Regions from separate parts of the Homo sapiens genome. Here region 1 is linked to region 2. Evidence: promoter capture Hi-C in 16 types of primary human blood cells and fetal thymus (Javierre and others, 2016). All regions are on one chromosome and are shown on one strand. The core of a region is centred on a gene start or on the middle of the fragment in contact, and the rest is flanking DNA. Distances in the headings are between cores, read along the strand shown. Region 1 overlaps DUSP4 (dual specificity phosphatase 4). Region 2 holds the start of RBPMS (RNA binding protein, mRNA processing factor).

Region 1 (4,423 bases), core at 799-3,298, 1.0 Mb after region 2:
GTGACCAGAGAGAGATCCATTTATATCCTGAGGGAGGGAGAGGAGGGGAATAGAGAAGCCTCCGGTCAGAGAGGAAAAAATGTACACCCTGTTTCTATAAGCCTCATGATGTGGTAGAGAACCGTTTCCTTCCTCTCAGTAGGAAGCAGTCTTTAGGGTTGGGATTTGGCGCAAGTGACTGACTCACCGTCACATGTCTGCACATTGGAAAATTTCTATCAATGGCCCTAGGGCACAGAGGTCCTATGTCACTGTCATGAAGACCGCAAAGGTAGCGACATCCAGGACTGTTGGCCAAATTGTCATTGGAGTCAGTTGAATGGGTTTGTTGGAATGGTGGTTCTCCAACGCACAGGCCCTACTGAATCAATTGAATCCATTTCTGGCCCTACAGACACTGTAAAATAAAAATAAAAGCAGGGCCATACATTGATAGCACTGTGGATTGGAAGTTGGCCGCAAAAGGAAGTCCCAGAGATCACAAGAAAGCCAGAGATAGGGCTTGAAAGGTTGTCTTTTTGGATGGCCTCCCTGTGGCCTCTCCCTGTATCCCACCTGCCTCCACCCCTCCTAGATAGGAGCACTCACCCTACCCCAGCTCAGCTGGCCATTTATCATCATCTTCTTTTTTTATTTAAAAGATCTCCCTTCTCTGGAAGATGATCCCACAGATAACCATTCCAGGGCTTACCCACTCTCAGGTCAGGAAATACTCCCTTGCCCCAAACCTGTACATAGCATGAGGGGTTTATTTAGATTTAAGCCCGTTTTCCTCTTGTTCTGGTCTCTTGGTGACGGAACAGCTATTCATGAGGACGTGCAATGGACATCTGTTCCATTGCTGAGATCCAGAAGAGTTTGTACCAGGGTCATTTTTTCCCTTCTTTCTCACATTGGAGAACCTCCCCTGAGGAAGGGCTGGAATCAGGGGTGGCAGGTGTCTCTACAGGTACTTAGTGTCCTTGGAAGCCCAGCGTGACCTTTGCTTCTCTATTTTGTCATTGTCCTGAGGAGCTACTCCACAGTCACTTCTGCACATCCCCCTGCACGTCTTCCTTTGTATGTCTACCTCTCTAACCCAAGTCTTGTCCATAAAGCTTATCCTTCCAGCTTTGCTGCAGTCCTGACGAGTGTGTCCTCTGCATCTCTGGAAACCACTCCATGGCCATTCTCTAGGTCCACAGCGCCACCTAGTGGCCAATATGGAGCACGCCAGCCCCTGCCTTCCTAGCAGTCCGCCTGAGTCTGTAGGAGTCGAGTTCTTTCTGACTTCCTGCTGGCTTAGTGACCCCATTAACCTGAGCTTCTTTCTCCTTTACAGGCGGCTATGAGAGGTTTTCCTCCGAGTACCCAGAATTCTGTTCTAAAACCAAGGCCCTGGCAGCCATCCCACCCCCGGTTCCCCCCAGTGCCACAGAGCCCTTGGACCTGGGCTGCAGCTCCTGTGGGACCCCACTACACGACCAGGTAGACTCGGGGGGCAGGGCTTGGAAGTGGGGGGCAGGAACAGCGTAGGGGCCAGTGGATGCCTTCTTTTCAGAGTTCTGACGGTGTTTTTTGTCTTTGCTTTTGAGACAGTCTTGCTCTGTCACCCAGGAGTGCAGTGGTGTGATCATAGCTTACTGCAGCCTCGAACTCCTGGGCTCAAGGGATCCTCCCTGGTAGCTGGGACTACAGGTGGCACTACCATGCCTGGCTAATTTTAAAAGGTTTTTGGTAGAGATGGGGGGGGGGGGTCTTGCTATGTTGCCCAGGCTGGTCTTGAACTCCTGGCCTCAAGTGATCCTCCTGCTTTGGCCTCCCAAAGTGTTGGGATCACAGGCGTGAGCCACTGCATCCAATCCTGAGATTTTTTTAAGTCTTTGAATGTTATGCCTCAATTTGGGGAGAATGCGGTGAACCCGGAGTATTGGGGTGGGATGTTAGGTAGGACCTATTTACTTCTTGGAAATCTTCCCCTTCCCTCTCTAAATATCCTCCTAAGAAAAAAGTCTAAAGACATGACTCCCTGGCTTGGCCTCTAACGTCGTGTCCGGACAAGTGAGGAGGCCTCCAGAAGCCCTGGGGGACCTGCTCTCTGGGAAGCTGAGGTCATTCTCCTCTGAAGTAGCAGGCCATGAAATACATCTCAGTCCCCGACAGGCAGGCTGCTCCCACGTATCAGCCGAATGAACATAGATGGTCACCCACCCTCCCTCCAAGAAAACCTGCTTGAGCCACTGTGTTTCTTATAAGCCCACCCTCCAGCCCTTTCAGTTAGATGGACTCTGCTGCCCACATCTCATGTGCTAAATTTAAGCCACTGTTGCCTCATTTTGCCAAGATCCTCTCTCTTGTCTGTGTGGCCATGAGGGCATCAGCTTATTTATTTGTTTATTTTTAGAGACAGAGTCTCACTCTGTTACCCAGGCTTGAGTCCTGTGGCGCAATCATAGCTCACTGCAGCTTCAAAGTCCTGGGCTCAAATGATCCTCCCATTTCAGCCTCCCAAGCAACTGAGACTACAGGTGTGCACCATCATGCCAGCTTCATTGTTTGAGAGATGAGGTCTCACTGTGTTGCCCATGCTGGTCTTGGAACTCCTGGCTCACATGATCCTGCCACCTCAGCCTCCTAAAGTGCTGAGATTACAGGTGTGAGCCACTGCACACCTGTTTTTGATATGCCCAGTGAATACATATCAAAACAAATAAGTATCTAAACCACACAGCAAATGGCTTGATGATTAGCAGATATAAACTCAGTGTCACAGATGGTGCCATAAGGCCGGCATTGTCCTGCCGCTTATTTTGCCATGGGGGAGGTGCAGGAGAGTCCCACAAGACTTTACCTGCCCTGGCCTCTCTGCTCACAAGTAGAGGGCAAAGGCTGGAGAAGTCCCACTGGGCCTATCACCCCTCCAAGAGTTCCAGGAGGCTACAGGGGGAGGCTGGGAGGGCCAGGCCCAGCAGGCATTCTCCCTGGGTTTGGAAAGGAAAGCTCTTCTCAGACAAGCTTCCACTCCCTGTGCCAAGCACTTTACCCTCATGTCATTCAGGGGCCTTTGTTTCCCTTTCTGTGCAGGGGGGTCCTGTGGAGATCCTTCCCTTCCTCTACCTCGGCAGTGCCTACCATGCTGCCCGGAGAGACATGCTGGACGCCCTGGGCATCACGGCTCTGTTGAATGTCTCCTCGGACTGCCCAAACCACTTTGAAGGACACTATCAGTACAAGTGCATCCCAGTGGAAGATAACCACAAGGCCGACATCAGCTCCTGGTTCATGGAAGCCATAGAGTACATCGGTAGGCTGGCCCTGCTCTGGGGTTCCTGGGTTTGAGGGCGGGTGGGAAGGATAAGGAACCCCTGTAAGCCTGGGTTGAAGGTGGACATTGGAGGCACTGAATCCAAGGGTCCCCATTCCCCCTCTTCCTCATTGGGAAGGCTTATACATTGGATGTTGGGTTGGGAGGGAGGAGGGAAGATGGACCTACACACAGGCTTAGCTTGCAGAGCCAGTCCCCTTCCCCTTGCATGGCTTCAGTGCCTAGATGGTAAGAGTTTTTGGACGGGGAGGAAGACACAAGGAGCATTGAGTCATAGTTTTTATTTTATTTCTATTTATTTATTTATTTTGAGACAGAGCCTTGCTCTGTTGCCCAGGCTGGAGTGCAGTGGCGCCATCTCAGCTCACTGCAACCTCCGCTTCTGGGGTGCAAGTGATTCTCCTGCCTCAGCCTCTGGAGTAGCTGGGACTACAAGTGCACCACCACGCCCAGCTAATTTTTGTATTTTTGTAGAGACAGTTTCATCATATTGCCCAGGCTAGTCTTGAACTCCTGAGCTCAAGTTATCCACCCTCCTTGGCCTCCCAAAGCGCTGGGATTACAGGAGTGAGCCACCACCCTGGACCCCACTGTTTTGTTTCTGCAAAGGGAAATCCTTGAACAGATAATAGGATTTAACCAGCTTCAGCATAGTGATTCGGGAAAATAGACCTCAGAATTGGGGGCATTCTAGAGACCTGCCTACATGGGTTTTCTTCCTCTCCAGTCCTTGGTCTAGCACGGCTAGTCCTTCCTTCAGAGCCCCCCGACCCCAGGGGCTGGCCGGTGCCCCTGGTCGGGGCTGGGGTCTGCAGAAACGTGCACTAACCTATTGAACCCTGTCCCCAGATGCCGTGAAGGACTGCCGTGGGCGCGTGCTGGTGCACTGCCAGGCGGGCATCTCGCGGTCGGCCACCATCTGCCTGGCCTACCTGATGATGAAGAAACGGGTGAGGCTGGAGGAGGCCTTCGAGTTCGTTAAGCAGCGCCGCAGCATCATCTCGCCCAACTTCAGCTTCATGGGGCAGCTGCTGCAGTTCGAGTCCCAGGTGCTGGCCACGTCCTGTGCTGCGGAGGCTGCTAGCCCCTCGGGACCCCTGCGGGAGCGGGGCAAGACCC
Region 2 (4,398 bases), core at 1,568-4,067:
TAAACCAAAAATAGGAAATTAAGGCAAAATTACCTGGATCATTCAGGCCACCTTAGTTTCTTTTCCTCAATTTCTGACATTATAAACCCCCCTCTCTTCACGGTCTTAACTGTTTTGTACACGACATCTCTCTTGGACAACTTGGGTTCTGAAATCTTCCTACGTGTCCCCTTACTTTTTACATAACAAGTGTTTTGCTAAAAAGACCGATACTTTCTAGAGCCACATGCCATTCCTACCTGAAAAGGAACGCTGTCAGATAACAGGACAAGTAAGAGGCAGCAACTGTACTGCAATGGCCCGCGATTATACAGCGATTATTATACACAACCTCACAAGGACGGAGGAGCGTCCAGGAACAGGGCAGGCAATCCCTTGGTCCTGGCAGCTGTTAAGAGGGGTCAAGCAGAAAAATGTGACTTTTCTATACTTAATTTTAATGTGGGTATGATTTTTAGGACATTGAACCTCTTTTGCTACCTACCAAAAGGAAAAAAAAAAGTTTTCTCAACTGGGTGAATAAAGAAAGATGGTTTCATATAATATTCTAACCCTGAGAAGCAAACAGATTGCACATCTAGCTGAAACAGAAAGATTTCTGAAGCGATGATTATCTTGATATGGTAAGTGAATTAGTTAAATATGGTAATTCCTAAAAAAGCACACTTGTCATTATTTTTAAATTTTTTTAAGTGGTAGGGAAAATAAATAGCAAAGCAGCCAGTAAAGTTCAAGAAAAAAAATCAGAACACACCATTCAACTCTCCATCGCTTTGAAAAAAGAAATGCCAGTAGCATTCCTACAATTGTAATTAGAAAACATGCAAGTAAACAACTCTTCAAATAGTCTTTTATAATAAAATAGAAAATGTCCTCGGGTGAAAAAGCAATTTTTGGCTGACTGCAATTCATTTAGGTTTTCACTACCATACAACTGGGTGACGAGTAAAATCTCCTATTTATTTTGCATTGTTTGGCATAGTCTCGCTCCTCTACCTTCTCCATCTAAATAGTTACCATTTTCCAAGTGGACAATGTGCAGAGAAGTTGTATGTATTAATGAATTCCTCTGCAATTTTGGTTTCACTATCAGAATTGAAGTTTGCACACAACATAGTGTCTCAACAATGATCTCAACATTCTAACGCTTTAGAATCCGTTTACCTTCTGTGTTCACCTATATCAGGATCCAATACCTGTGTGAATCTTTTCGGGTCATATTTAGACGTGCACTTTCCTGCATCTACACACACTCTCAAGTTCCTCTAGAATGTTTAAGAACTCAACTGTGTGGGATGTTAAGAAGTACGCCAGAAATAATTTCTTGGACTCCAGATAACGTACCTGCAAAAAGAGTCATTTGGTAGGATACCACAAATATCCTACTGAATTCTGAAACGTTTGTTCCTGAGTCCGACTCCCCTTCTGACCACATCTACTCAATTTTGTTTCCACCGAAGGAACGCTCCGCAGTCACAAAACTTTCATCATGATTACGGACGCACCACCTAAAATGCATGCTCAGAAGTCAAAGTCCTATGAAAATACCCTCGATGAGCATTTGGTGAATTGCTGCGTTTTTAACCCTCTTACTCTGCTCCCCTCAGCTGCACGGCCCCTAAAATCACAAGCGTTCACCGCCCAGGCTCGGGGTCTTTGACTCAGCAGAGAAGAATGTGGCTGATGAGTTATCTATTAATCCAAAAAACCTCGGCTAGAAAGATATTTCACCAAGAACTTTTAACACGGAAAGGGAGGGGGCAGGGAATAGAGGTATCTTTTAACGAGAACTTTCCCCCGAGTTTCTTCCTTAAACTGCTCCCCCCCCGACCCTGAATCCATACACAATTTCCAGCCCCGGCCCTAAGTCCTGACCCTCCGAGTCCCGATTATCTGAGGTCACCCAGGAGTCAGCTCTCGGTTCCACTTATAAATCCCGGGCAAACAAAGCTGAGCATTATACTTACAAAAGTCTCCGAAAAGTCCTTGGAGTTACGCAATTTGGGGCCCGCAGACGCGCGTGGACACAAAAACACACGCTCCCGAGATCCACCCTCCCCGGGCCACACTGTGGGGCTGCGTCCGGGGCACGGGCCATGCCTGAACCTTCTTCCACCGCCGCGCCCCGGGCCCGCGCCCCGCCGGCCGCCCGCACTGGGTCCCGCGTCGCCCCCGCCACCACACCGAGCCGCCCAGTACCTCCTCCTCCTGAAGGTTGGCCTCGCTCGGGGTGTTCTCCTTCTCGGCTTTGCCGCCGTTGTTCATCTTCCCGGTCCTTCCTCGCCGGGCCGGGCAGGGCTGGGGCGCGGGGCTGGGCGAGGGCGCGCTAGCCCACTGGAGCCTTCCCCGGGCGCCGGGGCTCCCTCGGGCGGGCGCCGCGGGCTGTGGGGCTGGAGCTGGAGCCGGGGCAGTGGCTGTCGGGCTCGGGTTGGGCTGGGGCTCCCGCGGCGAGTCTGCGACGGCGGCGGCGGGCGACTCAGGAAGTGCAAGGGAGAGACGGGGCAGGGCGCGGGCCGGGAGCGGGGCACCGAGACAATCGGGCCCCGGGAGGGCGACCTGGAGAGGGAGGGCGGGAGCCAGGGGAGGAAGGAAGAAGGAAGGAAGGAAGGAAGCAAAGGATGGGGCGAGGACGCGCGTCCCAGGAGTAAGCGCGGAGAGTTGGGGCTGGGGGCTGCAGCCGCTGGAAGGAGGGGACGGGGGTGCCTAGAGAGGAGGAGGAGGAGGAAGAGGAGGAGGAGGAGCGGGGCGGAGGAGCGCGGGCCGCGGCTGGGACGCTGGGACCCGAGAGCCGCTGAGTACGCGCTCCAGGCAGGCTCTGGGAAGTCCGGGATGGAAGCAGCTCCCTTTCTCTCGCCTTCCTCCCTCCCCTCTCCCCTCCCTCCTCTCCGCGCCTCTCCTCCTCCCTCCGCCCTCCCTGGACGTGGGCTGCCGGCTGCAGCCCGGAGGGACGGGGCGCGGGACGGAGCCCCCCGCGGGAGGAGGGGCCGGCGGCCGGATGGCGCGCGCCGGGGAGGGGCAGCGGGCCGCGGGCGGAAGCGGCGACCCCAGCCCCCGACTCAGCGGCTGGTCGGAGGGCGAGGGCCCGGGAGGCCGAGGGCAGGGAGGTCGGGTCCCGCCGTTCCCTTGGCCCCCGGGGGCCCCGGCGTCTGCGCGCCCCGGGACTTCGGGGACCCTGCCCCGCCGGGGCCTGGACCGGGACCTGGGATGTGTGCGACTTTTAGTTTGCCGGCTTTTACCGAGGGATTTGCACCCCTGGCCCTAAGCCCACCCTTCCCGAGCCAGACCCGGTTCTTCCTCTGCTGCTTGAATGACAGCATGAGAACTCGAGGGACACCGGGGACAGCCCACTCCGGGCCGGCTTTTTCAGGACAGGGCTTCAAACCCATCTCCAGCGCGGGTCCTGCGACGCGCCCGGAGCCTTCCCCGCTTCGCTTCCTGAGCGTCCCGCGGCCCCCCGACTCCTCTCCCAACTCTCACCAGACTGTTCTGGGATTGTTTACCTGGCCTCTCCCTCACCCTTCAGAAAGCTCCTTCCTGGAAGAAAAAAAAAAATCCTGCCCTATTTATCTTTTTAATCCCACGGCTATTTAAACGGGCTAAGGGGTATATAGCAGGCACTCAATAAATATTTGTTGGCAAAGTGAATATTCCTTATTGCAGGCAGAGCTGGGGGTCCGTACGGAGGAACTTCAGAGGCTGGAAGCACGCTTGAAAAAGAAAGGGGGCCTGGGCTTTGCACCAGCTTCAGGATTGCGTACTTGTTTCCTCATCCGTGAAATGGGAGCAGCTGAATGTGTCTCCTCGAGTTTTCGAGGTGATTATAGGTTGATAGAGCTATATACAGCACCCAGCATTTATTCTTGCTTCGTTTAGGTTTACAATACATGGAAGCTAACATTATTATTAAGAAAACTTCTATTTTTCCAGGGCCTTAGAAAGCGTTTCCAATACTCGATCATTTAAGCTTATGGTTTTTTGGTTTTTTTTTTTTTTAGAAAAATGAGGGTCTCACTTTGTTGCTCAGGCTGAGCTCGAGCTCCTGGCCTCAAGTGATCCTCCTGCTTTTGGCCTCCCAAACTGATGGGATTACAACGTGGAGCCACCGTGTTAAACTCTTAGATTTGACTGCTACAAAGGTATAAATGTGGAACTCCATATATCAGTGGGTTCTGCCCCACTTCTTCCTCCCAGGAATTCTCCATCCCAGCCTGCTGCTCCTGTCTTGCACCGGTAACAGTTTCCAACTACAGTATTTGCTTAACTGTTTCTCCCCACCCCCACCAGACATTCTTTATACTTGGTTTAAGTGCTGCTGGGGATAGGGCGGGGGTGGCTGTGGGAGTTGCAGATAAGGACCCTCCCTTTAGGGAGTTTAAAGTGGTATGGTGGCTCACACTT

Evidence for each region. Contacts are between HindIII fragments. The CHiCAGO score rates a contact against its expected background, and 5 or more counts as called.
Region 1: a fragment that was not itself captured here is called in contact with the fragment with the promoter of RBPMS in region 2 in 5 of 17 cell types (naive B cells, M2 macrophages, M0 macrophages and 2 more); the score reaches 9.5 in naive B cells.

Annotation. Positions count from the first base shown.
Region 1 is chr8:29,337,142-29,341,564 of GRCh38, reverse strand. It overlaps DUSP4 (dual specificity phosphatase 4), which reads left to right. Exons shown (of 4, transcript NM_001394.7): 2 at 1,322-1,467; 3 at 3,064-3,283; 4 at 4,154-4,423. Among named protein-coding and RNA genes, the nearest start is that of DUSP4, 11 kb to the left of the region's middle. RefSeq lists an enhancer at 1,059-1,353. The HindIII fragment of the contact is 1,897 bases long and covers 1,100-2,996 here.
Region 2 is chr8:30,382,960-30,387,357 of GRCh38, reverse strand. RBPMS (RNA binding protein, mRNA processing factor) reads right to left here and starts at 2,817. Exons shown (of 9, transcript NM_001008710.3): 1 at 2,200-2,817. The coding sequence starts at 2,265. RBPMS-AS1 (RBPMS antisense RNA 1) reads left to right here and starts at 1,957. Exons shown (of 3, transcript NR_046205.1): 1 at 1,957-2,214; 2 at 3,661-3,814. RefSeq lists enhancers at 1,688-2,359, 2,360-3,030. The HindIII fragment of the contact is 8,815 bases long and covers 1-3,966 here.